7 separate regions of the Homo sapiens genome follow, and regions 2, 3, 4, 5, 6 and 7 are each linked to region 1. The links are contacts of gene promoters, found by promoter capture Hi-C in blood cells and fetal thymus (Javierre and others, 2016). All regions are on one chromosome and are shown on one strand. Each heading gives the region's core, a stretch centred on a gene start or on the middle of the fragment in contact. The rest is flanking DNA. Distances are from core to core; before and after follow the strand shown. Region 1 holds the start of CALB2 (calbindin 2). Region 2 overlaps HYDIN (HYDIN axonemal central pair apparatus protein). Region 3 overlaps HYDIN (HYDIN axonemal central pair apparatus protein). Region 4 overlaps HYDIN (HYDIN axonemal central pair apparatus protein). Region 5 overlaps HYDIN (HYDIN axonemal central pair apparatus protein). Region 6 overlaps HYDIN (HYDIN axonemal central pair apparatus protein). Region 7 overlaps HYDIN (HYDIN axonemal central pair apparatus protein).

The links. The method cuts DNA at HindIII sites, captures the fragments that hold promoters and counts their contacts. A CHiCAGO score of 5 or more calls a contact.
Region 2: a contact is called between a fragment that was not itself captured here and the fragment with the promoter of CALB2 in region 1, in 1 of 17 cell types (endothelial precursors). The highest score is 7.0, in endothelial precursors.
Region 3: a contact is called between a fragment that was not itself captured here and the fragment with the promoter of CALB2 in region 1, in 4 of 17 cell types (endothelial precursors, erythroblasts, megakaryocytes and 1 more). The highest score is 9.4, in endothelial precursors.
Region 4: a contact is called between a fragment that was not itself captured here and the fragment with the promoter of CALB2 in region 1, in 1 of 17 cell types (endothelial precursors). The highest score is 5.9, in endothelial precursors.
Region 5: a contact is called between a fragment that was not itself captured here and the fragment with the promoter of CALB2 in region 1, in 5 of 17 cell types (endothelial precursors, erythroblasts, M1 macrophages and 2 more). The highest score is 11.3, in endothelial precursors.
Region 6: a contact is called between a fragment that was not itself captured here and the fragment with the promoter of CALB2 in region 1, in 2 of 17 cell types (endothelial precursors and M1 macrophages). The highest score is 9.7, in endothelial precursors.
Region 7: a fragment that was not itself captured here is called in contact with the fragment with the promoter of CALB2 in region 1 in 6 of 17 cell types (endothelial precursors, M0 macrophages, M2 macrophages and 3 more); the score reaches 15.1 in endothelial precursors.

Annotation. Positions count from the first base shown.
Region 1 is chr16:71,357,154-71,360,873 of GRCh38, forward strand. CALB2 (calbindin 2) reads left to right here and starts at 1,570. Exons shown (of 11, transcript NM_001740.5): 1 at 1,570-1,733. The coding sequence starts at 1,640. RefSeq lists enhancers at 1,301-2,266, 3,293-3,587 and a silencer at 1,369-1,598. The HindIII fragment of the contact is 14,542 bases long and covers 1-3,720 here.
Region 2 is chr16:70,968,917-70,973,212 of GRCh38, forward strand. HYDIN (HYDIN axonemal central pair apparatus protein) reads right to left here. Exons shown (of 86, transcript NM_001270974.2): 36 at 1,604-1,843. Among named protein-coding and RNA genes, the nearest start is that of VAC14, 170 kb to the left of the region's middle. The HindIII fragment of the contact is 2,226 bases long and covers 1,791-4,016 here.
Region 3 is chr16:70,872,429-70,876,189 of GRCh38, forward strand. HYDIN (HYDIN axonemal central pair apparatus protein) reads right to left here. Exons shown (of 86, transcript NM_001270974.2): 63 at 2,389-2,491; 64 at 1,877-2,164. Among named protein-coding and RNA genes, the nearest start is that of VAC14, 73 kb to the left of the region's middle. The HindIII fragment of the contact is 1,886 bases long and covers 1,289-3,174 here.
Region 4 is chr16:70,889,539-70,893,330 of GRCh38, forward strand. It overlaps HYDIN (HYDIN axonemal central pair apparatus protein), which reads right to left. Exons shown (of 86, transcript NM_001270974.2): 56 at 2,823-2,991; 57 at 2,108-2,346; 58 at 49-166. Among named protein-coding and RNA genes, the nearest start is that of VAC14, 90 kb to the left of the region's middle. The HindIII fragment of the contact is 8,070 bases long and covers 1-3,792 here.
Region 5 is chr16:70,930,670-70,934,486 of GRCh38, forward strand. The region is part of intron 45 of HYDIN (HYDIN axonemal central pair apparatus protein); the gene reads right to left. Among named protein-coding and RNA genes, the nearest start is that of VAC14, 130 kb to the left of the region's middle. The HindIII fragment of the contact is 3,067 bases long and covers 109-3,175 here.
Region 6 is chr16:70,952,658-70,956,791 of GRCh38, forward strand. It overlaps HYDIN (HYDIN axonemal central pair apparatus protein), which reads right to left. Exons shown (of 86, transcript NM_001270974.2): 40 at 2,718-2,891. Among named protein-coding and RNA genes, the nearest start is that of VAC14, 150 kb to the left of the region's middle. The HindIII fragment of the contact is 9,942 bases long and covers 1-4,134 here.
Region 7 is chr16:70,989,443-70,993,440 of GRCh38, forward strand. HYDIN (HYDIN axonemal central pair apparatus protein) reads right to left here. Exons shown (of 86, transcript NM_001270974.2): 24 at 2,628-2,768; 25 at 1,876-1,954. Among named protein-coding and RNA genes, the nearest start is that of VAC14, 190 kb to the left of the region's middle. The HindIII fragment of the contact is 905 bases long and covers 989-1,893 here.

The DNA.
Region 1 (3,720 bases), core at 320-2,819:
GACAGGTTATATAATTTGCTCAAGGTCACACAGCTTATTCTGGGATTCACACCCAAGCAGCCTGATTCTTGAGTGCCTACTCTTAACCACTGAGTCATCCTGCCTCCCTAGGGACTTTGGTGAATCTCTCAGCAAGGTGGATGGGTACCTCTAAAGCTAGCTTTTGATGACTTCTCCCCCCAGTCTGTTCCTGCAAGTAACTCTAAACACATTCACCCTAGGCAAAGAACAAGTGGTTTTGGAACCTGCATTCTCTATTGCCCCTTTGAGACTCGCTCTGGGCTTGGCCCTCTCTCCAAGGGACAACCCTCTCTCTGTCTCCTCCTGGGTTCCCCTCTCCCCCAGCGACCTCCTTTTCATTCTCACTTACCTCCTTGCCTTTCACTCTCCTCTTGGAAGGTGGTTCAGCTAACACTCATTAGCACATGTTAAAGATCGCCAATTCATGTCTCAGTCACTCCGTAGCAGGAGAGGGGAGAAAGGAGGGATGATGCTGTCACTCTGTGGGTAATGTGTCTTACCTTACCACACCACAAGGCCAGGACAGACCCCTAAGGGCTCAGACCGCAGGAGAGAATGGGGAGAGGGCCCAGCTCCCTGCTGGGGAGTCCTGTCTGCTGCCCTCAGGATGTGCGCTCAGTAGCTGCGTCTATTTTCTCTGAGACCAGCTCAGAACATCCCCAAGACAGAGTTGGACGTTGTTCTCTGTCCACTGGAGCAGGCACATTCCCACGATGTCCCTAGGTGGGCGTGGTTAAGACCTGGTACGGGTTGATCTAGTTCTGCCACCCCCTGGCCAAATGTCTAAAAGCCCCCCAGAGCATGGCCAGCGTGAGGCAGGTACCAGGGGTGGAGGGAGGCTCCGAGGGGACGGATATACGAAGACCCAAACAGACAGTGGAAGCCCCCCACCCCCACCCCACACCACTTCCATCGGAATCCTCCCGGGGCACTGCTGATTCCAGCTGCTCCCCACTAAAGCCTTGAGAACTCTTGGCTGCTCTGCAAGACTGAGCCCCATGAAGGAGCCACGTGCGGCGTGGAAAGAGTGCTGAGTTCAAATTGTAGCCCTGCCACTAATTTGCTGGGCCAGTCACTTAATCATCTGAAGTCACAAGTACCTCATCAGAAAAGTGGTCCCAGCTCTTCCTGCTGTGGAAGGATCAGAAGAGAGGAGGCACGACAGAGACCTAGTGAACTCCGAAGCCCGAGTGCTAAATATTTGTCAAGTTTGTGTTAGTATTACTATTAGTGTTGTTACTGCTGTTATTATTATTGCTACTGCCAGCAATAATAAGTGGTGGATGTACTCAAGACGGTCGGGAGGGAAGGCAAGGGCAGCCTCTCCCTCATTTTCACCGAAAATCCTCCGGGTGTCCCTGGCCCCGCGCCGAGGGGTCTCAGCGCAGAGGTAAGGGCCCTCTAGGAGTCCGGGCCGAGCCTCTCGCGCCGCCGCCCCCGCCGCGCCGCGCCCCGGTCGGATTCCCTGAGCGCGCGCGCCCCCTTCTGGCGGCCGGGCGCAGGCGCAGGCTCCAGAGCGTATATAAGGGCAGCGTGGCGCACAACCCCAGCGCGAGTGCCAGAGCCCAGCCGGCGCGGAGCGGGAGCGGTGCAGGCTGAGGTCTCCGAGCGGCTCGCCATGGCTGGCCCGCAGCAGCAGCCCCCTTACCTGCACCTGGCCGAGCTGACGGCGTCCCAGTTCCTGGAAATATGGAAGCACTTTGACGCAGACGGTCAGTAAAGCTCCCAACTTCTGTGCCCATTGGCACCCAGGGGACCTGCGGTGAAGGGGGCAGGGGGCGGCGCTGAATGCGGGCAGGTGTACGTTTGCCCTCAGGAGGTGGTCTGGTCGCAGAGCCTGCTGGGGTAGTGGTCCCGGGTTTGGGAGACATCCGGCTGCTCTGGGCACAACTGTCAGTAACTTTCTTCCCTAACATAGATGACCCAGAGCCCACCCGCATTTGCACCTTTATTCTGAGCAAGTGGGAGCTTTCTCAGAGAGGTGGCCTGGGCTGGGAAGGCCTCCAGGTTCCCCCTGCCATCTCCCCCACCTCCCCTGCCTTCAGCTGCTCCAGCCACAGGTCTCAGAAGACCACTCATTTCTTTCCTCCTCTTCCCCTTTTGTTGAATGCTAGGTTAGCCCCCTTACCCTGCTGGAGGCTGGGATAAATTAGGGGATCCTGAAGGGAAACGTGGCCTCCCCAGCTTGATTGGCTGGGAGCAGGAGTGGAAAATGGCATTGGGGGCCCTGAACACCCCCCTGCTTCCTTTGTCCATTTTCCAGCCGCCGTGGGCATGTAGGTTTCCCAATACAGCAGCAGTGGGTGTGGTGGCGGGCAGCGTTGGGGTGCCAGTCCCAGACCTGTTCCCTCATAGTGATAATCCTGGGTACTCTTGGTGACTTCATCTCTGGGTAGGGGGAGGCACCACCCTAAGTGCCTCAGTGACTAACCCTCTGCTCTGTGTGGTCTTGACACTGACTCACCCAAAAAGCAAGGGCCAGACCAAATGACCTTTGGAGGTAGCCCCCAGCACTGGGATTCCAAGTGTCTGTGGTGGTCTGACTCAGGCATAAAGGGTGGTCCTCCTTTAGAGGCTTTTGATATCACTAGAGACTCTGTTTCTGTTACTCCGAAAAAATAAGTGATCTGATTTCCCTCTCTACGCACAGACCTGGCTAAGATGAGCATCCAAAATATCCTGGCATCTCAGACATTTTGTGGTGTCTGTAGCTACCCTCCCCTCGGGTAGCTAATGGCTCCTGGAGGGGCTGACCCCAAAGGGAGGCCAACGGGAAAGGCTAAGACAGATGCTGTCTCCAGAAGACAAGTTCTTAACCACTGCACTGCACAGCCCCCCAGGGGGCCAGGCTCAGCCTTGTGGGCTCTGACACCTGTCATTCAGGCCCCTGTCCCAGATCTGTGTGGGATGACAGGGAGTTTATCCTGGGGTCTGAGAGCAAGGGGGATGGAAAACAGAGGGGCATCAGGTGTGCCTCACTCCATTCTTCCCTCCTCCCTTCCTCGCCTTGGCAGGGTGTGGAGGTGGCTGGGCAGAGATCCTCTGCCCAGAGTGCTATGGGGAGGCAGGGGTTAATGTCTGGGGATGCTAATGGGTGAAATTTTGTTTCCTTGGAGCCAACTGAGAAAGCTAGAGGGGTAGGGGACTAGGCATTTGAATACCTGAGTTAGGACTGTGATCTGCCTATGAATTACTGATGGAAGTGGGTAGATTGTTAAATCTGTAAAATGGGGCTAAGGAGGGATTGTGTTTCCAATCCCCAGCTCCTGCCATAAAATTCCCTTGGTACAAAGTGCTCTCCTAAGAGAAGTGCAGCCTTTTAGTATTCCAGATGACATGCACATTCCCTAAGGAGGCTCCTGCCAGTTTATCTGCACCAGACTTGCATGATTCAAGGAAAGTTACCAAGCAGCCAAGGTTACACCACTGGCTTCCTGGTAGATGAGTCAGCTATAAACAGAGGACTCTATAGTTCTACTTTCCCCCATTCTCAGAGGGACAAGCAAGAGCACTGTCCATAACCACGCAGATCCTTACGTTGATCTGAGACATTGTACTTAAGCACAATTGCACCTTCTCAAGGTGTGAGGCTGCTGGGCAGACCATGACTCCCCTTATACAGATGAGGAAACAGACACAGGGGTTGACTTTTCCGAGGTCATGGAGCAAGTTACTGGTGGGGCTGGTTCCTGGCCAGCG
Region 2 (4,296 bases), core at 1,654-4,153, 390 kb before region 1:
AAAAAAAAGAAAGTCTTAGCAAAGAAACACAAGATATAAAAAAGAACCAAATGAAAATTTTAGAACGTAAAAATATAGTTACCAAAATAAAAACTCAATATGTGGGCAGAATGAAATGGATGGAGAAGAAAATCAGCAAACTTGAAGATAAAATAATAGAAATTACTTACTCTGGATAACAGAGAAAATAGACTTAAAAAAAAGAAAAGAGCCTCAAAGAACTGTAAAACTGTAACAAAACAAAATATGAGTGTCATTTGAGCCCTGGAAGGAGAGTAGAAAGAGCATGAGGCTGAAAAAGGTACTTGAATAATGCCTGAAAAATTTCCAAGTTGGAAAGAAGATAAAGATCAACAGATTCAAGAAACTCAGCAAATCCCAAAATCAATAAACCAAAGAAATTTATGCCAAGACACATTATAGTCAAACTTCTGTAAACTAAGACACAGAAAAATTCCTGAAAGCAGTGAGAGAGAGATGAAATCTTCCCTACAGAGGAAAAAAAATAATTCAAATGACATTGGATTTCTCATTAGACCATGGAGGCCAGAAGAAAGTGGCATATATTTCAAGGGATGAAAGAACTGTCAGCTCAGAATTCTATATCCAGTGAGCAAATCCTTCAAGGATGAGAGGGGAAGTCAAGGCATTCTCAGATGAAGGAAAACTAAGAAATTTCTATCAGCAGGCATACCCTAACAACAGAGCTAAAGGTAGCTCTCTAAACAGAAAGTTAATAATAAAAGAAGAAATCTTGGCGTATCAGAAAAGAAGAAAGAACAGAAAGAGTAAAAAGAGAGACAAATATAATACATTTTCTCTTTCCTCTGGGGTCTTCAAATGTATGTTTGACAGTTGAAACAATAATTATAGTGCTAGCTAATATAAGAAAAATATTTAAGACAGTTATATTAAAAATCGGAAGGCTGAAGGGAGTTAAATGGAGGAAAGTTTTCTAAATACACTAGAACTGCTAAAATGTCAATACCAGTGATTGACATTTAATCATTGACAGTCAATGATTATAATGTTATGTATAGATAATGTAATACCTACAGCAATAACTAAAGGAGCTATACAAAGAGATACACCCAAAAAACACTCTGGGTAAATAAAAATGGAATTTTAAATAATGTTGAAGCAACTGATAGGAAAGTAGGAAAAAGTAAACAAAAAATTCCTGAAAGCAAAAAATTCCAAAAAACAATAAAACATGCAATGGCAGACTTAAGTCCTGAAATAGCAATAACTACACTAAATGTAAACTAAATATATCAACTAAAGTCTAAATATATCAACTAAAGTTAGAGACTGATAGCATATTTTTTAAAATGACCCAATTACATGCTGTCTACAAGTAACTCAACTTCAAATACAATGATATTGACAAGTTGCTATATACGGTTCTTTACTGTTGGAATTTTAACCATGAACATGCATTAGCTTTTCAATTAGTTGCTTAAAATGTCTAGGATTTTACTCAGGTCAAGGGAAGTAGGTCAGAAAAGGCTATAGGGAAGTAATCACTAAATTGACAAGGAAGAATTCAAGGGGAAAAAGATGGGAACGTGTAGAAAAACAGTTTGGTTTGACCTCTGCTCACCTTTTCTTCTATGAGATACTGCTGATCAAATTCTAAGGAATAAAACTCAATGGGGAAGTTGCAGGGATTCTTCACTATCACCTCGGCCTCGTCTCCAGGTGCACAAAGTAGCAGTGGCCCCAGATCCAGGACTGAAGGACTAAATTCCAGGCGTGGCTCTAGACCTTGCCCACGTGCCAGGAGGGTAAGCTTTTGAGCACTCTGGGCAATCTGAAACACCAGGGTTTGGCTGTAGAATTTCTGGAAAACATAAAAACAAAACAAGCATCTGAGTTTATTTCCATTACATGTCATGTAAAACAAAACACTGCTGAGGGGAAAAAACTTATCTATTTAGATTAAGGGAGAAAACTTATTATAAAATTGCATAAGAGTAATTTTTATTACCGAATTAACATAAGTACTGGGTATTTAGCATGCCAAGCATTGTACCAAGTGCTAGATATCAAATAAATTCTGGGTATCTAGCATTCTAGCACTTGTACCAAGTGCTTCATCGTTTGTAGCAAGCCCTCTGAGTATCACTTTCACATCCCTCAAATCTTCCAGTGTGCTCAGACTTCCAGCTGCCACTGTCTGCATCTCTGGGCCTGAAGGTTCTCATTTCATGGAACCTGCTGTCCATGGGCAGGGGAGGGCAGGGCAAAAATGCCAGGGAAATGATACCATCTGGAATTAGTTATTAAGCAATGACTCTGGGGATTTACGGTAAAAAGACCCCAGCTCCCTTGCTCCTGAGGAGTGATGATTCTGAAGTGTGTACTTTGTGTATTTTCCCAGAGTTTGGCAGAATGCCAGAGCTGGGGCATTCAGTTCATCAGATACAATTACAACCAGATACTGGTTAATAGTGATATCATAACTACTCACATGTTTTCTCAAAATGGTACCCAAATCTACATTGCATCCCATAGTTCCTAGTCTGATTTCACTGGGGAACCTATTAAACATGCAGATCCTCAGATTCCATCCCTAGAAATCCTGACTCTGTAGGGGCAGAGTAAGGCTGGGATTCAGCATTTTTAACCAGATGCCTAGGTTATTCTGGTATAGCTGGACTTGTAGCTTGGTTTGAGAGGAAATTACGCAAATCACAATCTGAAGACCTCCTATCTTAGCTTGAAGGGGAAAAAGCAAATGGATGGAATGTATACAGACATACACACAGAAATATCTATTTCTGGACACAAAAAGATAAATTACTGGCTAAGAAGGGTTTCTCTATAGTTATGGGCTTAGTACCTTATGATTCAAACTTCTGTATTTTAATTGCTCCTTATGGAAATCTTTCTAAAACATTTCATTCATTTTCTTGAACATGTTATCATGCCTAAGAATTGTTGGTGTGGATGTCACTGATTTCTTGGTGCTGCTGATGTTGATGATGATGCAGATATATGGATCGTATGGGTTGCAGGGCTAACCAATTCCTTGTATACAGCTAATAAATTTCTCTCTTAATTGGTGGAAACATTTTACTAACTTTGACCAATTCCAACTCAACATTCATGAAACTGCTTGAACAAATCTATTTTTTTTTTTTACTATATTTCCCTCATTAAGTAATGGAAAAAAAATCCACAATCTTGAGTAAACCCTTTGAAAATTTTAAGACTCTTTAAGAATGACAAACATATTACTAATTTTCTTTTAAATGGACTGGGAAGATTTTGATAATGATAAAAACATGGGTTTTATTTTAGAATGAGATAGGAAGTCATTTGCTTTTTCTCTTTCTCACTGAAGGTGCTTAAGCATTTCCTCAAAGCGATTACAAGGAAAATGGGAGTTAACCATAGCTCTTCTATAAAACACAAATCAATTTTTCTTTTAAAATAACAGAATAGAGAAAAATATATTTCCCAAGTGCCTTAGGCTTTGAATAAAAGTCTTTACAGTGCAACCTCTTGAGATTCTCTGGTTCGAGGATTTTATTAATTTTATTATGTTCCTGGTCAGAAGTAGCTTTGAGTTGATTATGTTCACAAAAGAAACATTTATGAGGCTCCGGGAGGCCATCTACTGGGACGTACTTTTCACGACTACTGATGATAATAGTTAATAGTTATTGAGAGATTTACTTACATAGAGCAGCACACTGTGTACTTTATTCAATACTGTGCATTTAATCTTCAAAATGACCTTAGGAGGTAGTCATTACAGGTTGACAATAAGTTATCTGAAACCCAGGGGCCAGATACTTTCAAATTCAGATTTTTCAAATAGTAAACACAGTGCATATACCCTATGTTACCTAATACCCTCAGCAGGGTCTGGGGCAGGTCCCCTGTAATCAAACACATTAACAGTTGTTGGCAATGTTTGACTCTGAAAACTAAGTTGTACAAATAAAGGTTAAATGGTGTCATGTCAGTTCAGATGAGATTTTTCTGCCAAATGAGTTTTAGTGCGAAGCTTATGAAATCTCAAACCCCCCACCCCCAGTTTTGGATCTTACTGGGTTTCAGAATTTCAATAAGGACTTCTGATATGCAACATGACTATTTTTTCTTTTATCTATGAGTGAACTGAGACTGAATGAGGCTAAGTAATTTCCTCAAAGACACACAGCATGTAAGTGTGCAGAGGCAGAAGGCTACTAACCCAGGCCTTCTGATAAAAACTGATGTGTTAGTCCAATGATTCCAGACCACCAGGCCACACAGCTCCTATGTGAACCAGAAGTGCTTGAG
Region 3 (3,761 bases), core at 982-3,481, 480 kb before region 1:
CATCTACCCATCCATCATCTATCCATCCATCCCTCTCATCCATCCATTATCCACCCATCCATCATCCACCTATCCATCACTCACCTATCCATCCATCCATCCATCATCCATTCATCCATCCACCATCCACCCTCCCCCATCCTGCCATCATCATCCATCCACCCACCCATCCAGCCATCATCCACCCACCCACCCATCATCCATCCACCCTCGCATCCATCCATCATCCACCCATCCACCATCCACCTATCCACCCATCCATCATCTCCCTACCCACCCATCCATCCATCCATCCATCCATTATCCACCCTCCCATCCATCCATCATCCACCTGCTCACCCACTCATCCATCCATCATCCACCCATCCATCATCCATCCATCCATGCAGCCATCCATCCATATATCCATCCATCATCCACCCACCCATCCATCCATCCATCATCCACCCATCCATCCATTAATTCATCTATCATCTACCTACCCACTCACCCATCATCCACCTACCCACTCACCTATCTACCCATCATCATCCACCCATCCATCCATCATCTACTCATCCATGCATGCATGCATGTATCCATCCACCCATTCATCTATCATCTACCCATCCATCCCTCTATCCCTTCATCCATCCATCCATCATCCATTCACCCACCTTAGCCCTCACCTCCATTTGTACAAGAGAAAACATAGGTCCCCAACTCCATTTGTTTGGTGAGAAAATATTATAAAGGATTGGGATTGCCAGATAAAATATAGGAGTCCTGGTTAAATTTGAATTACAGATAAGAAATGAATAATTTTTAGGATAAGTATGTCCCATGCCATGTTTGGGATATACATATACTAAAAATTATTCATAGTTTAACCAAAATTCCAATTTATTGAGGAGTCTTGTATTCTGATTTGCTAACTCTGGCAATCCTATTATGGGCATGAAATCTGAGTTCTGAACTTAGATTCACTGCTGGCTCCTGCTTGAGCCTTGGTAAGAGAGATGTCACCCTGTAGCCTCAAACAGGGCTGAAACACCAGGTATATGAGGAGTGTTGATTTCAACCCATGTTGTGTAGACCACCTAACGGTACATTCCAGGACTTTAATTAAGCTTCTAGGTAAACTATGGGACTCTGTTTATAACTCACTTTTTAGCAACCAACCACATAATTAGGGCGCTTAACCAATGCCTTCTGATGATAACAATTTGATGATAAATTTTTCCAATCCCCAAAAATGTCAACTAAATGAAGCTTTAGTGCTTGATAGATTGCAGCACAACATGTCTTAAGCTTTAGTATAAAAACACGTCACCTGGGGCCTTGTTAAAATGTGGATTCTGATTCAGTAGGGCAGGGGGGTCTGAAACCCCCATTTCTAACAAGCTCCCAGGTGATGCTGATGCCATAGGATCTCAAACTGCTCATTGAGTAGTGGGGCTGTGCAGAGTGATGTTCTAGAAGTGCCCAAACCTATACTCTCTCTAATAAACAGACAATGCCAACACAAGCCAGCTAATAAATGCAGACAGGAAAAACTGCAAGGCATTTATTTGCTTATTAGTTGAACCAGAATTTGAATATCAAACTATAAGCTCCTTAAGAGTAGAGACTTCCTTGTTAATTTTGAAACTCCAGGGATCAGCATGCCTGGAACATGTACTTGGTGATCAATACATATTCATCGAGTGAACACATGAATAAATGGAAGGATGGATGCCATGACTGAGCCAGGCATGCCAGAGCATAGAGTAATGAAGAGGAGAGTCAGTCCTAAATTCTCAGGGAGGTAACCAACCTGTTATTTAAATTTACTCTCATTTAAAACAAATGACCCAGTAGCCAACACTTGCCAACACTTCACTGCTGTTTCTCCCACCTGCCACCAAGTCTTCCATATCATTGTCCTCGATGATCTCTGTGAACTCAGAGATACTTATGTCTTCCTGGCTGGTGGGGGCCACCAGTCCATGGATGTTGTCCAAGGTGATGTCATCCTCATAGCCCTCTCCCACCATGTGGATGGAGGTCTCCTCATATTGGTTGTTGATCACTGACAAGTGGATGATACCTCTCATCCTCCCAACCTTCTGGGAGTGGAAAACGACATCAAATTCAGCTGTATCTCCAGGAGAAACAACCAAGGAGGCTGTGTGAGCTTTCTTTGCTGCAAAGAGAAGAGAGAAGATATGATTTAGAACTAGTTTCAAGAAATGTGTATCTATAAAGACCCCTGTTGAAGGGAAAGTAACCCTAGAATGGGAACGAGCCTTAGCTAGAGGCCAGTGGTGACGAGACTGGGCATTCCCCTCTGGCTGGGCCTTGAGTGGTCCCCTAATGAAGCAGCTACTGAGATCCATTGCCCTCTAGAAGCACCCTCCCCACACTTACCTTTTACATGTGGTTTATTTTCCTCTGTGATGTAGATATACGCGGTGGTGGGCCTCCCTTTCAGGGAGAAGACTCCTAGCTCATCCTGCAGGTCAACATGCAGCTGGCAGAAGGAAAGCAGGGATGAGTGCTAGGCTTACAGGCTGCTCATGGGCTTTGAGTCTGGGGTGAGATACTGTGCTGTGTTTGGGGCAGGACCCCAAAAAGGTATTATGCCTAGTATTCACTTTTTTGAATTTCTTAAGAGAGATAAATAATAAATATTAGACCTGGAGAGGACAGAAGAACATTCAGTCAGATCAGCCCTTGTTATCTGAGTGAGGAACTGGAGGTCCAAGGAGTATGCAGAACTTTCCAGATCACGTAGGTAGTGTCAAAATGTGGTTGCCAACACCTCTGTCATTAACAGAGGCAGTTATAAAATATACGCTAGGCCAATAAAATGCAAATGAATACTTGTAATTCTATAAGGGCCTGCATTGATGTCAATTCCTAAAAACCAGTATCTCCTAGGTGCTATGCATTAGTTTAGTTGCCTGATAGTGTCATGTTGAGCATCCTACCACGATAAGAGAAAAAACAAGGTGGGCATTTGACCTACTTGGAGAAAGTGGTGGTTTCTGGCCCATTATAAGGAAGATAAGACTAAAGCCATACATCTGATTTCGGATATGAGACATCAGCAGGCATTGTTAGAAGACAGTAATGCTGGCACCATCATGAAAAAGATTGAATAATACAAAATATGAGGCATGGAGAAGGCAGAAATAGTGATATCACACGGGAAGCTTCTGAGATAAAAAATTATGTATTTAGAAACAACTTTAATAAGAAACTATATGGAAGAATTATATGTAAGAATATTGACATAAAAGATCTAAATAAATGGGTGGAAATCCTAAATGTTCCTGGTGGAGAGTCTAAATACTCCGCAAGCAGAAATCCTACCAGATTCAGAGGCTTCCCGATGGGATTTTTAAAGGAACGTTATAAAATAATTATAAAGCTTATTTGAGAGATTAATAGGTGAAAATTGTTAAGAAAAATGGCAAAAACAGGGAATGGGTGGATAGGAATTCACTGAACTAGATGCTAAAACATATTATAAAGCCACAATAATGGAAACGATGCAGGGTAATGGTAAACTAGGTAACCTGAGCTCAAGGCAACAACAATTGCTAGACTAAATATATATAAAAAAATTTTTTTTAAAGCATAACAGAGCTACGAAGAGAATGAGGAGTAAATAGACCAGGATCTGTGAGAGTATAGAAATCCAGCAAGGTCAGTCTCACTTTCTGGGCAGTTTTTGTCCGCCCAGAGCATTTGCCAGTCAGGAAAAGGTAGACAGGAGGCTTGTCTGCACATTTTTT
Region 4 (3,792 bases), core at 841-3,340, 470 kb before region 1:
GAGTTGGCCTTACTGGGTATCTGTAAGAACAGGGAAAAGGACACGCACCTGGCCTGTGGTGGTTACTTCTTTCTGAATCGTGTCAGAGAACTTGGCTGCTCTGGAAGAGCCAGTTTTGTAGAAGCTCTCACTTTCTCGGGATCTTGCATGTCTGACGTGGCTGGCTCTGATTAAAGAAGCAAGAGTATACCCTTAGATTGTGGGGTCGGGGGTAACATTAGACACCACCTGTCTGTTTTCTTGCAAGGGCCCTTCTCCCAGGAATGGGGGAAGGGGCCCTTCTTTGCCCAAGAGGACACTGGAGTGGCATAGTTAGCTAGTTAATCACTGACCAAACTCATTTAGCAACTGTAAGGAAACTAGGCGGTAATTATACTTATTAAATATGATTTATAGGGACACCGAAAATTACTGCAAGAAGATAGTAAGTTTTAAATGCCTACTTGAGTTCACTGGAAAGCAGTGTGCAGAAAATTACTTGTGGATGTCAAATGTTTTACTTAATCTGATTTTAAAAAATGAAATGGCAAATAAATTAAGCTCTTTTCTGTATCTTCACATTTATAGTTGTGATGTTTTTAAGGTTTAGTATAAGCAGTAGTTCAAATATAGGTCTTGGTAGTTGTTCACTTGCCTTGAAACTAGTTTATCCAATAATTAGTTTGCCTAGAGACCAGTTCACCTAAAATATTCAAATGTATCTGAAATGCATCTTAAACTTTTGAGAATTTTATATATTCAAGCATTCACTTGCTTAATGACCAGAACACGTGAAGTTCAACCCCCTTTCGTGTGTTTTGTATGAACTTGTGCATGCTAAAATAACAAATAAATAAAAACCAATGTAAAGCAAAACAGAATTAAGTCATAATCATTATAGACATTACATTGTTATAAATTGTAAAAAAATTCAGTTGAAATTAAACTAGGAAGAAAGAGACTTTACACAATTCAACTCTACATTTTAAAAAATGTTCAAATTTTGTCAAAACAGAAAAGAATAGCTACAGAAATATAAAACAACTACAATGTAAAGCCATACATCTTATTTAAAAGAATTAACTAGAAAGTCAAAATTAAATCAGAAGTGCCTCAGGAATCGGTAAAAACCATCCTTAATTTGCCCGAAAAAGAGTATGGCAGCCCAGTAGAAGCCAAAAGCACTCAAAAGACAAATTGTTTTGGGTGAATTGATTGACAGCCTCCTTTTGAAGAACATGGAGTTTTGCTGTTGGAACAACTATTAAGGTAGCTTTGTGACGGTGTCTTCATGGGGAGAAGGCAATAATAGTAACAGGCAATAACAATAATAGTCCCTGGTAGGCTGAAGGCATCACCGCACTTCCTCTCTTCCACGCTTCCAGAGCAGCCCCACCATGAAGCACTGCTACGATTTCTTTTGATTTAGCTTCCTATGATAATAATTTCTTGGCGTTGTACAGAATGACACATAGGACAATGATCTAACAAGTCCTTCAGCACGCCAGGAGCACCAGGACAACAGACAAAATTCCAGGCAGAAGACTGTGTTTGTTCAACTAAAATTTATGATATATTCTACAGGAAATCTATGAAACCTGGAGTCAGAAGATGTGGGCTCACACCAAGATCTACTGGTGATTTCGTGTATAGTATTTAAAAAAAAATTTTTTTATTTTTTATTTTTTTGAGACAGAGTCTCGTTCTGTCGCCCAGACTGGAGTGCAGTGGCGCGATCTCGGCTCACTGCAACCTCCGCCTCTCAGGTTCAAGCGATTCTCCTGCCTCAGCCTCCCGAGTAGCTGGGATTACAGGCATGTGCCACCACACTTGGCTAATTTTTGTATTGTTAGTAGAGATGGGGTTTCACCACATTGGCCAGGCTGGTCTCGACCTCCTGATCTCAGGTGATCTGCCCGCCTTGGCCTCCCAAAGCGCTGCGATTACAGGTGTGAGCCACTGCGCCCAGCTTTTGTGCATAATCTAAATGAGCCATTTCTAAATCTTACTGATCTCACCCACAAAACGGGATTGGGTGAATTTAAGTAAGATATACGAAAGCTCTTTATAAAATATAAAGCATAAATTAAAGAGGGAATGGAATGAGTTAAGTAAATATTTGTCTTACGCTTTCTTTTGATGAATGGGGCTCTCCCCTGTCAGCTTATAAAGGGCGAACTTGAAGTCAGTAACACCTTGATTTTCTATGGTGAAGGTGGTGCTTTTACGAGTGCCACAGATCAAAGCTCCAAAGTTGATGACAGAGGAGGGGGTGATGTTGTATTTGGAATATACTGCATTCGCGGAAAACTTAATTGGGATGCTGGCAATGATCTCACCTCCTTCTGAAATATTGGGCTCAATAATCTAAAACGGGAAGAAGAATGAGCAAGTCAGCCACTGCTGTAGCTACAGAATTCCCATGATTATCTACCCCATTCCCTATTTTCATCATTGACATGAAGCCATGTTCTTTATTTCACTGTCTTCGTATTATTGCGAACACTAAAACAGAGCTTACTGTGTACCAGCCAAGGGTCAACTTAGCCAACTTTTCCTCATGTTTTCAGTTCCCTGCTCATCCTTTGCACTTGATGATGGGACTCAGCTTCCCTGCCTCTGATGCTCCCCAAAGACCTGGGGGCACATTTCCTCACTGGATCTAATTCTGATGACTTTGCCTGATAGTTAGGACAGAACCCCGGTGTATCCTATCTGGTTGCCACCCAGGCCAGCCCTCCCCTTTTCTCCCTGGAGCATGGATTAGGTCATGTATCCTTCTTTGCAACAGGAGTCGTACGATCCTGCCATTGAGGCAGCCCCTCCCTTTGGAGCTCTCTTACCTGACAGCGCAGAACAGGCTGGTGCTCAATCTTCACTTCCTTTTTTGCATGGAAGAAAACTTGGACATTTGTGGGTTTTTCTGTTGGGGTCAGTGAACCCTTTTTGGGTTGGACTGAGATCATGGAATTTATATTAGGTGTTGAAATCCCTACAGAGTCCACGGAAAAGCTGAAAGACAAGAATAAGAAGTCAGCCTAGGTCATTATCCCGGGAACTCAAGATCCCAGAGAGGAGACTCTAGATGGTTGAGTGCCTGCTGTGTTTCCAGCCCTGTTTAGCCACTACGTCCGGCGGAGTCCACTGTGCTTTGTACATCGTGATCGCCTCTCCTTAGCCAGGATTGACCAGGCTAGGAATTGATGCTTACGGCAAAGACAGCCATACTCTATCCCATGGTCAAGAGAGGCCATTGCAGGAGATCTCTGTCCAACAGGGACATTGGATATTGAAAAAGGACCATCTAAATTAATTCTCTCTTTCTCTGTTTGTGTCTGTCTGGCTTTCAGCACATGCAGAGCGAACAGTGACACAGAAACCAGAGAACCTGGGGAGAGAGACAGCAGGGAGGGGGCAGGGGTCCTGTAACAGAGGTACTGGGGAGGGAAGCCCATGGCCTACTGGAGGTGAGGCAAGAACCACAGGAAGAAGCTGGCTCATGAGACCGGCAGAGGGACTGCCGTAGGCTCAAGATGTATCCCACCTAGGCAGAGGTGGGATGCCCGGAGTTGCTGTGGGGCTCTGAATGTCACCGCCATGCTCCAGGAGACCCTGGCTGCCCAATTACCTGCACCCCTGTGCTTCCTTGCTTCCCTGCGCATTCTTTCAACAAACCCTCTATCACCTGTTCCAACCTGAGAGTGACTCCATTCCATGCAACCTCAAAGAGCACAGCTAATGCCCCTGTCTTAATCTAAAAGAAAACTCACCAACAGGCAAGATTCCACTTAGCACTAATTCCAAACTGACAGG
Region 5 (3,817 bases), core at 392-2,891, 430 kb before region 1:
GTGCGGGGGGCAAACTGGAAGCAATTTGTAATTAAGGTCTAAAGAATGGAACTGACATCTTAGTCACTGACCACTGCAGATGCAAAAGACCAAAACTTGATCCAACCAAGCTTAATTGTCTGTTAAACCTAAAATATCAACATTCTTTGGAGAATTATAATACAATACAGAGTCTGCAACATAACATTAAAAAATTTCAGGATGTGATACAAAATTACTTGTCATATGAAGAGTCAGGAAACTGTGACAAATTCTCAAAGGAAAAGACAGTCAACTATGCCAACCCTGAGATGACTCAGATGGAGGAACTGTCAGACAAGAACTATATGCAGCTATTATAACTATGATCAGTAAGGCAGAAGGAAATCCAAGCAGATAAACTGAAAAATTTAAAAAGAACCAAGTGGAAATTTTAGAAGTGAAAAATACAGTATCTGAAATAAGAATTCAGGAAGGAACAAGCCATGAATTTTCATACATGTGAGCAAATAAATTTTTTTTAACGTTTTTTGAATTGGGTTTTCTGTCTCTCTTTCTTCTGTTTTTTTTTTTTTTTTTTTTTTTTTAATACAGGGTCTTGCTGTGTTGTCCAGGCTGGATTCAAATTCCTGAGCTCATGCAATCCTCCTGTTTCAGCCTCCTGAGTGGCTGGGACTACAGGTGCACACCACCACAGATGGCCTGAATTGAGTCTTCTATTTCTTGCAGTTTAAAGATTCCTGACAATATATCCACTTGAGACTGTGCTTTTGCTAACGTTAGTGTTGGCTGCTACGCAACTGCTTACAGCCTTGCTACTCAGAGTGTGACCCAAGAGCCAGCAGCATGAATGTGACCTGGGACTTGTTAGAAATATAGTCTCATGCCCCAGCCCAGACCTACGGAATCGGAACCTCTCTGCATATTAACAGGATCCCTAGGTGATTTGCGTGCATATTCAGATTTGAAAAGCTGATATAGAGAAAATCAGAATCACCAGCAGATTTCATTTTATAGGATAAACAGTTAAAGAGCAGTAGGCTATTAGATGGAAGGAAATCTTCCGATTAGAAAGGCAAAAACAGGCTGGGTGTGGTGGCTCATGCCTGTAATCCCAGCACTTTGGGAGGCCAAGGTGGATGGATCACTTGAGGTCAGGAGTTCAAGACCAGCCTGGCCAATATGGTGAAATCCTGTCTCTACAAAAAATACTAAAATTAGCCAGGCATGGTGGTGGGTGCCTATAATCCCAGCTACTTGGGAAGCTGAGACAGGAGAAGCGCTTGAACCCAGGAGGTGGAGGTTGCGGCCGAGATCCCACCACTGCACTGTAGCCTGGGCGACAGAGCGAGACTTGTATCAAAAAAAAAAAAAAAAAAAAAAAAAAGGTAAAAACAATCCACAAAATAAAAAAAAAAGTGATTGGCCAGGCGCAGTGGCTCACACCTGTAATCCCAGCACTTTGGGAGGCTGAGGTGGGTGGATCACCTGAGGTCAGGAGTTCGAGACCAGCCTAGCCAACATGGTGAAAGCCTGTCTCTACTAAAAATATAAAAATTAGCCGAGTGTGGTGGCGGGCGCCTGTAATCCCAGCTACCCGGGACGCTGAGGCAGGAGAATCACTTGAACATGGGAAGCGGAGGTTGCAGTGAGCCGAGATCGAGCCACTGCATTCCTGCTTAGACGACAGAGCAAGATTCTGTCTCAAAAAATAAAGAAATAAAAAATAAACAAAAACATACCCACACATAAAACAAATATTTTTGAGCACCTTTCTGCCAGGTGGGAGACTCATTAAGTGATCAAAACAGACAAAAGCCTCAGCCTTCATGAGGCTTATATTTTGCAGGGGCAGGTAGGCAGACAAAATCACATAAAAATCTATGGTATGTGAGATGGTGATGAGTGCTAAGAAGACAGGGAAGGGGCTAAGAAGTGGGTTTTTTTTTTTGTTGGTTTTCGTTTGTTTGTTTTGTTTTTGCTTTTGTCTTATTCAATTTTAAATAGAGTGGCCAGGGAAGGCCTTGCTGGGATGTTTAAATAAAATCCTGAAGAGGAGTTCAGTGGCCAACCAGCATGTTTTTTTTTAAAGGTTCACCTCATTAACAATTCAAGAAATGCAAATCCAAGCAATAAAAATATTCAGTTGTTCACCCATCGAATCTAGTCAGCAAGGATTAAAAGGAATGCTAAAACCTATAGCCTGTGAGGTCAGGGGTAAAATACACACCTTTCAACCCTGGAATGACATGTTTAGAAATGTATCCTAAGGAAGTAAGCATGGATATGTACAAAGATTCCGCTCTAAGTGAGACACTTTTGGTCTCTCCACTATGATTTCCTTCCATGGATATTAAACTAATTTGGCAACAAGCAAGAAAAACAGAAAAATACACTTTATGTTTCTGCAAACTGTGTCCTCTTCCCCATCCTGTTTCCAGAACCAGAAAACCAGGGGGTGTGATGATGGAATTACCATGTAGCTACACAGTACCACAGCAAAGACGGGTGAGACAGCTGGGGATGGGGAAGAAAGGAGAGCCCTAGTCTGGGACGGGCTTGAGAACAATTTAGGAGGGGGACTCCCTCACAGGGCTCCTGGTTGGTCATGGGGTGAAGGTGCAGAAGTGACAGGGTCAGGGTGACTCTGGGATTTGGGCCTGGGAGCTGAAAGAAGGGTTGGGGAGGAATATAGGGCCAGGAAGAGGTCTGGAAGAAAGGCAGCATAGATGATGAGCTTGGTGTGGGCCGTGTTGAGTTACCAGTGTCCGAGGGACAATCTGAAGAAGTGTCAGGAGCCATGGATGGACTAAGGGCTTGGGAGGCAGTGCAAGAACCAGGAAAAGGAGTGCCTGCTTTGGAGTTGGACAAATTGGGCCTGCCCCCACCGCCTTCTGGCCATGTGACCTTGGGTGCATCACTTAACTGTGCTGCATTCCAGCTTCCTCATCTCCAAAATGATGGTGATGATCATATCTCCCTCAGCGGGTGTTGTGGAGACTGGAGGTAGATGGTGATGGGATCTATTCACAGTTCCCAGCAGGGAGTGTCACATAGCAGGAATTCAGCACACAGTAGCTATTAGTTGTTAAAACATTGGTTTAGCTCTTTTTCATGTGGCTTCTGCCTTTCTCTCCTCCCTCTTTTGGGCTGTCCCTCTGCCTGGAATGCCCTTCACTTCGTTTTGGAATTTGCAAGCTTTTCCTGACTCCCCTCCTCTCTTCCTCCAACCCATTATGTATGATCAGGTAGCACTGAAGTCACGCATGGGATGGGGGTCAGCCTTAGACCAAGCAGGAAGACACAAAGGCTGACGCTGGAAACCTGCAGAGTGACTAAGGATGGATGGAGGCGGGTCCAGAAAGAAACCAGGGAGAAGGAGGAAAGCCAGAAAGGGCGGACCAGGATGCTAGGAAAGAAGAGCGATCCAAGGAGGGTACGATCCACAGTGTGAAGCTCATGGAGGAGGACGTCAAGCAAGTCAAGGCCTAACCCATGCCCATTAGATCTGGAAATGGAGAGGCTGGAGCCTTGGATTCGAGGGAGTGGTGGAGACAGGAATCAGGGTAGGAAACGGGGAGGCAGAAATGAGGGGTGACGAGGCAAAGCCAGCAAGTGGAGACAAGCATGAAGGGAAGGAGAGAAATGGGGTGCTTGTCGGGGGCACCAGGGTTGAAGAAAACTTTTTTTTTTTTCATTTTAAAGGTGGGTGATTCTTGAGAACATCTTCAAAGCCTGTGAGAAGAGCTGAAGCCAGAGCAGAGAGGAAAACAGGTGTGCTGACGGTCGAAGACATAGAGCAGTCCTTTTGATGAGGAAGCAGGAAGGTCTTTAGTCA
Region 6 (4,134 bases), core at 933-3,432, 400 kb before region 1:
TATTAAAAGTCACCTTAGAATCACAAAAAATGACAGTGGGGATGGCACTCTGAAGTCCGTTCTGTCCAATAGACATATAATGTGAACCACATATGTATGTAATTTAAACATTTCTAGTTGCCACATTAAAAAGGTAAAAATTAATTTTAGGGACATATTTTAACCCAATATACACAAAATGTGATCATTTTAACATGTAATGTATAAAAATTGCTACTGTGTTATTTCCAAGTCTTTTCTTTATATCACATCTTCAGGGTTCCCATGGGTGCTGTACATTCACCGCACACCTCTGTTTGGACCAGCTGGGTTCACGTGCTCAGCAGCCCCTAGGGCCAGTGGCTACTGTATGGCACAGGCAGGTTCGGGTTCACTGCCACCACTTCATTCCAGCCTACCAACTCCACAGTGACAACAGATGCAGGAGAGATGTGAGGGCCTAACCCCTCCATTGCAAAGGCTCTATCCAAAGACCCCAGGGACCTCCCAACTGGGAAATTCAGCCACCTTCTACTCAGGGCTCATTCTATTTGGGCTTCTGGCAGTCTCTAATTCTGTTCATTTCTTGATTCAATGAATCCTTTATGAATCTTTATTATGTGTCAACTATGCCAGGCATTCTTCCAGGTGCTGGGACTACAGTGGGGAAAATTAACACAAGCCCCTGCCTCCAGAGCTTACATGGGGTCGGGGCAGACAATAAAGGAGGTAGATCAGTATTAGGTTAGCTAGACAAGTGGGCTGTGAGATTAGGCCAGCAGGAAGGCTCCCTGTCCAGCAGGGCTCTGAGGGACGTGAAACTCCTCCTCGCTTCTCCCTTTCCTAAGGCTCTGGGGCCCTTTCCTTGACTTCCCTGACAGTCCCTGTGGCCCTGGCTCTGCTGTCTCTACTTCCCGGCTTCCCCATGACCCCTCCTGAAATGTAGGTGTTCCCCATGGTCCTAACCTGCCTCGTCCAGCAAACATTCCTCCTGGCTCATTCTGGGCTTTTCTGGCTGCTTCACCTACCCTAGTGGTTTCATGGAGAAAGACTCTCCCAGCTGTGTCTCTAGCTTGATGTTATTTTCTCAGACCAGGAACTCAAATTCACCCTTAGGCACAGGACATAAACATGGCTCCACAGATCACTATGAAATGTAGACTATTTCACAGAAAAGGAAATAAAAAATTTAAGAGAACCAGCATTAGGGCATAGCCAGAGGTTCTCACTAAAGAGCTATTTCTCTTATCTTCCCAGCAAAGAATCTTCCATTTCCCTAAGTGTCCCACGCAGAGGTATTGAGGGGAGGGGACAACCCTGAAAGTCCCAGCCAGTTTTATCAACTAGCAGGCTGGAAGCATTCTTGGGATGACGTCATGCCATGGGCACTGACATAGGAATGCTTCCCCTCTGAGCAGGCGCTCTGCTTGGTGTTTAGTATATTTTCCCATCAAGCAGCTGCTCGCCTGCCCTGAAGGTCCTCAAATAACCTGATGGAGCCAGAATTCTCAACTTTTTGTAGGAAGGCCACACCAGACCTCCCCACTATGCGATTCCAAAACTCAATTCAGGCTAGGCACAGTGGCTCAATCTTGTAATCCCAGCACTTTGGGAGGATTGCTTGAGGCCAGGAGTTTGAGACCAGCCTGGACAACATAGCGAGACCCTAAAAATTAGCCAGGCATGGTGGTGCATGTCTGTAATCCCAGCTACTCTGGAGGCGAATGTGGGAGGATCGCTTGAGCCCAGGAGGCTGCAGTGAGCTATGATGGTGCCACTGTACTCCAGCTTGGGTGACAGAGAGATACCTTGTCTCAAAAAAAAAAAAAAAAAAAGAAAGAAAGAAAGAAAACAACCCCCCTCCCCCAAACCCAACCCAATTTATTTTCTTCTCCAGCAAACTTTTTCTTCCTCCTGTGTTCCCTATCTAGGTACATGACATCGCTCTCTCCTGGATTCTGTGGCTAGGAAGCTGGGCGTGGCCATCTTGAATCCCTCTTACTCCTTCAATTCTCCACCATGCAGCTGGCTGTCGGGTTGGCCGGCCCAGGCCCATTTGTCTGCAGCTTCACTATCGCTTCCTTTACATGATAGTCAAGGGCTACCTTCCTATTGTGATTTTCTGATCATTTTTCCATAGTGTGAAACTGTCCCAATAGCTCTTTTCCTTGAACATAAAACTCAAATTCCTAATCTTGGCATTCAAGGTGAACAATGATTGGCCTCAACCTGCCTTCCCACCCCTAATTTATGACCAGTTTCCCTGCTTTTTTGGTCTGGAATGTCCTTGTCCCCATCTTTGCCTACTAATATTCTCTTGCTTCTTCAAACCCATTTCCTTGAAAACTTCCCACATCACCCTTGTTGGAACCCATTCATCCCAAAGTCGCTCTTTCAAAGAAGCTGGTATTTCTGTTGCAAAATTATTTTCCTCTGCTCTGAGTGACCGCATGTCTGCTTCCCCCACCAGGTGTCAGACTTCCAAAGGTGTGGGCTGTGTCTTATTCATTGTCCTGGTCCCCACAGTGGCAAGAGCACGCTGGCATTGGGCAGGGCAGGAGACCCAGGAATGCTTCGTGAAGAGAATTCTCCTCTGGGCTATGAAGTTGGCAGCATGCTGTAGGGCAGACTTCAACCAGGCTGTGGGAGGAGAGCTCAGTGGGGCACAGAGAAGATGGGTGTTGTCAGTGGGGGTGTTGGTGACTTGACCACAAAAACCCAAGAGAATGGGCTCTTACCAGCCTCCTCTCCTTCCTTCACGGACTGCTCTATGGCAGCCCTGATGCAGAGCTCACGGGCCCGGATCCCTGGGATGTTGTTGCTGTTGGCCACAGCTTCCAGCACAATGGAGTCGATGCTCAGGCAGGCTGCGTTGTAGTACTTGGCCACGCTAACGGCATTGGCTGACTTTCCTATTAAAAAGACCAGGGGGTTGAATTTCACGGTGCTCATTTGCTCAGTGTCCCAGAGAGAAAAGGTCTCAAGAGCAGAGGTCCCTGCAAAGTGATCTCTCTGAGTGCTCTGCCTCCTTCCCATGTGGCTGGAGGTGTTAGCAGCAAAGAGAAGGAAGACCTCAGCCTGGAGTCAGGGCTGTGGGTCTGATTCTAACCCTGCCACTGATGCGTGCATGCTGTGGCAATCTGCATCCTCGCTGGGTTTTCCCTCAGTTTAAAAAACAGATTCTTTTTTTCTTTTTTTTTGAGATGGAGTCTCACTCTGTCACCCAGGCTGGAGTGCAGTGGCGAGATCTCAGCTCACCGTAACCTCTGCCTCCTGGTTTCAAGTGATTCTCCTGCCTCAGCCTCCCAAGTAGCTGGGATTACAGGCACCCACCACCATATCTGGTTAATTTTTTGTATTTTTAGTAGAGATGGGGTTTCACCATGTTGGCCAGGCTGGTCTCGAACTCCTAACTTCAAATGATCCACCTGCCTTGGCCTCCCAAAGTGCTGGGATTACAGGTGTCAGCCACTGCACAGGGTCTGTTTAAGAAACAGGTTCTATCAGATGATCTTTAAAATACTTTGTAGTTCCTCCTGTCTCTGATTCTAATAGGAAAACTTTTTATTTTAAAGAATAACTTGTGTTGATTTCTTTTCTCATTTCAAGGTACTTTCATTACAAAAAAAAAAAAAAGCAGACAATTCAGATATAACAGACAAGAGAAAAGAAAAAAAATCCATCATCCACTCATTCAGGGATAGTACCGTTAGCCTATGGTCGCTAAGTACACATGTAACTGTATTTCTTATAAAAAAAGAAATAGGTGATGTGGTAGGCTGAATAATGGCTCCTCCAAAGATTTCCACCTGCAAATATGTTACCTTTTAGGGTAAAAGAGACTTTGCAGATGTGATTAATTTACAGATCTTGATATGGGGGGTTAGCCTGGATTATCCAACCGGGCACAATGGGTCCCCATGAGAGGAGAGCAGGAGGGTTGGAGTCAGAGCAGGTCAATCAACCATGGAAGTAGCAGGAGAGACTGGGAGATGCTATGCTGATGGCTGGGAAGGAGGAAGAAGGGGCCAGGAACCAAGGGTTGCAGGCAACATTTCTAGAAGCTAGAAGAGACAAGGAAACGGATTGTCCCCCAGATCCTCCAAGAAGGAACACAGCCATGCTCACCCATTTTAGACTTCTGTCCTCCAGACC
Region 7 (3,998 bases), core at 191-2,690, 370 kb before region 1:
TTTTAAAATATAGAAAGCTCCAAGGAAAGAAATAAAAGTCCATCTCAGGTTATACTGTAGATAAATATTATTATATATATGTGTGTATATATAGTGTATTATGTGTGCATACATATTTGTATTCTGATTTTTCAGTTGACCTAATATGAGTGCCATCTTCCCATATGACTGAATATTCTTCACAAACATCACTTAAAGTATTTTAGAAAGTTGATTGTACATGATACAAATTTAAAATATTCAAAAGGATATATGGTAAAAAGATAAAAAAAGACTTCTATCCCTACAGTTCTCCGGTTCTCCCCTCCTGAGGTACCCACTGTCCAGTTTCCTATATGTTGAATTTAGTTATTCCTCTTAATTCAGCTGATATTTACTGGGGACTTACTAAGAACCAGTTCTATATCCTGAGGATATGACGATGAACAAAACAGAAAAAAAATTCCTGCCCTCATGAAGATTAAATTCCAGAGATATTCCACGCACAAGCAAAGATATCTATGTAACTGTTTGAGAGATAACACAGTAGCTAAGAGCAAGCAAGATGGTCGAGTCTTCCAGCTCCACTGCTTGATGGACGTGTCCCTGCATTGGTAAAATGGGGAAAGATAGTGGTATCCACCTCACAGAGGTGTTGGGAAAAGTAAAAGAGTTAATGTAAAAAATTGCTTAGCTGGGGGCGATGTCTCATGGCTGTAATCCCAGGACTTTGGGAGGCTGAGGCAGGTGGATTGCCTGAGCTCAGATGTTCAAGACCACCCCGGGCAACATGGTGAAACCCTGTCTCTACTGAAATACAAAAATTAGCCGGGCATGATGGCAAGTGCCTGTAATCCCAGCTATTTGGGAGGCTGAAGCACGAGAATTGCTTGAACCCAGGAGGTGGAGGTTGCAGTGGGTCAAGATGGTACCACTTCACTCTGGCCTGGGCAACAGAGTGAGACTCTGCCTCAAAAAAAAAAAAAAAAAAAAAAAAAAAAAAAAAAAAAGCTTAGGTCAGTGCTCAGTTAAGTGTTGGTTGCTTTCATAGACTTTTTTCTTTATACAAATGGTAGCACACAGTGTACTTTGTTTTGCACTGGGTATTTTTTCTTAATATATCAAAGATTGTGCCAAATTAGTATGTAGAGAACTTTCTCATTTTTAAAAAAGAATTTCATAGTATTGCCTTGTGCAGATGTAATTTAGTTTATTCAGACGGTCTCCTATTGGTGGAATTAAGTTGTTTCCAATATTTCTTGCTTTTACAAACAAAGCTGCAGTGTACAAGGATGGTTACATGCTTTATGCAAGTGCAGAGGTGTATCTGGAGGATAATTTCTAGAAGGGGGACAATGCATTTTAAATTTTGATCTACTTGCAAAGTTGTATGTTATAGAGGTTATGCCAATTCATACTCCTACCCACACTGTAGGAAAATCCCACTCAACACTATTTTAAAAGATTGCATCACATCATGGACATACAGCAATTTATCTTTCATTTTGTTTTTCATTTTTTGCTGTTTCTAAAATGTTGTAACAAGCATCTTTGTATGCACATCTTTGTATCTCCAATAGTTTACTTAGGCCGTCATTCTAGAAGGAGAATTTAAGGGTATTAATTTTTAAGCCCCCTTTGTTTTTGCTACAGAATTATTAAGAAAATATTTTTCCTTTAGTATCCTCTATCTAGGGTGTAGGAACATCACAAGTGTAGGCTCTCACTGAGTGTTGGCTCTGGGGTGTTTGGCTGGGAAGAAATGTGGGTAAAGCTGTACGGCTTTGTCCCAATTAAACCCAAGCATTGTACTGGCCACTCTGCTCCTGATTCTGCCTTTGTTTTATGGGAAGGACCCTTGACCTGCCTACCCTCCCCATGGAAAGGACACCGTACATCTGAGATCACACTGGAAGCTTTCGTTTTTCTTAGTTCTTTTTCTTCAGGCCTGGCATCTTCATCCACAAGGACAGTCCTAGGAAGTTTAATGAAATGCAGAGATTCACTCATTGGGCTGTCATCGCCACACAGTCTCAGGTGCATAACAGCCCTGTCTTCCTCTTCTCCCTCTACCACACCCCCAAACGTAAGGGGGATTCTCAATCAAGGGACACCTTTCTCAAGAGGTCAGCTGGTCAGGGCCCTGTTGCCCTATGCCCCCAAACATGTGGTCTAGGCCACTGAACTGGTCAATTTTTCACGGGGCTCAACCCTTTTTTACTGGCCCACCAAGCCCATGTTCAACTTACAAAAAGTCCTAGGAAGCTCCAGCAATTCTTCAGACAATGTGGGTGTTCTATGTGCTCAATGTTGTTTCCCTATTTATTGGAGCATTTTATTGTGAGGACATAATGTTTGGTGAATTGATATATCCTTTCCTGCTTGCTACCCTGGACCCAATCCTGACTGTAGACCTTGGACATACAGAGAGGACAATATGATAGGAAGGGCTCAGTCCCCCAGGACTCATGATGGTACCCTCTCCCTATCCCAGATGTCTAGTCTGGGGCCTACACATAGAAGACATTTATTAAACTGTTGACTGGGTACTGGATGAATGAACCAATGAGGGATGAGTATTGAGAATGTAAGTCCGTGTAAAGAAAAGAAAAGCTACTACAAATAATCTATGTTGGCTTTGCACTTACTTAACAAAATCATTTAAATCCATCTCGGGGGACTCTACTGTAACTAGGATTGCTGGTGGGCTGGCAGCCTCTGAGGTTGCTGGGATGGACTCCATCTGGGACACTGGGGCACTGTAGGGCTTCTTCGGCAATGTCACAAACCTACCAAAGCATGGGACAGGGAATAGGGGGAGACAGGAGACATCAGTTTTTGCAAATCAGTGTTCAGTGGGCTCTCAGTTTCTAAGGCCAAACTCCAAATCCTAGACCAGGCAGATCTAGTAGGGACCACCCTACACCCTCCCTTGAACTTGCCTTCTTCAAATCTCAGCTAAAATTTCACTTGCTCTTAAAAAGTTTTCTGACTACCAGTCTAGGCCCAACTTCTTTCCTCTGAGTGTCCATAGCCCCCTGGGCTTCCCCTTTCACACTTATTTTTACCATCCCTGTTAGATGTGGACTCGCTGAGGACTGGTATCCAATATGGTGTCTAATCCAGTGCCTGGCCTGGAATAAGTAGTCGGCATGGTCATGAATGAATGAGCCACTGGGGATCCTGCTCCCAGTTCACCAGAAAGCAGGGCTAAGACTCAGCTGAGGCCTGGGAAGCACTCTCTGTTAGGGGCCTGGAAGTGCAGGCTCGGGTTTCTTACATGACCTTGCCTCCTACAATGTGACCTCAGTGCCTTGCTTGCCACACCCTAGTCCTGGTCCCACCAATGAGCTGTGCTGCCACTCAAGTTCTCTGAGCAGAGGAACCCAGGGGAAAAGCAACTGTACCGGCTGGTGCTGAAGCCCATATGTCCAGGTTCCACTGATTAAAAAGGCCTTTGGATGTCACAAAGGCCAAGGTTGTGGGGTCACCCCCATTCTTCCTGTTTCCCCTTGGTGCATGGCTTCTTCTGGACCCCTCTCTGACCCTCCCCAACCTATCTCAAGCCCTTGATGTTAATTTCAATCTATTTCACTTATATACTCATTCTGGCCCCATCTGTACTCAGAGGCTCAGCACAAATGTCATCTATTATGTGAAGCTCCCACCACTGGCCTATCTTCCCACCGGAAGAAATTCTCCCTCCCTTGGAAGCTTCAGAGCATTTCATCTGCACTTCTTTTAGGACACTGTCCACTCTAACCATGTCCTAGAGTATCATTTCCTAAATTTCAGGGATCCTAGAGTATCATTTCCTAAATTTCAGGGATCCCACTACCATCTTCGTGATTTGTAAGCACACAGTTTGATGAGTTGTATACACATCTGTGGAACTATCACCACATTAATAAACAGAATGTTTCCATCATCCTAAAAAGTTGCTTTGTGCAAACACTCATCTGCTTAATATCACTAGAGATTAATTTGCCCACACTTTCATAGAAATGAAATTGGAAACA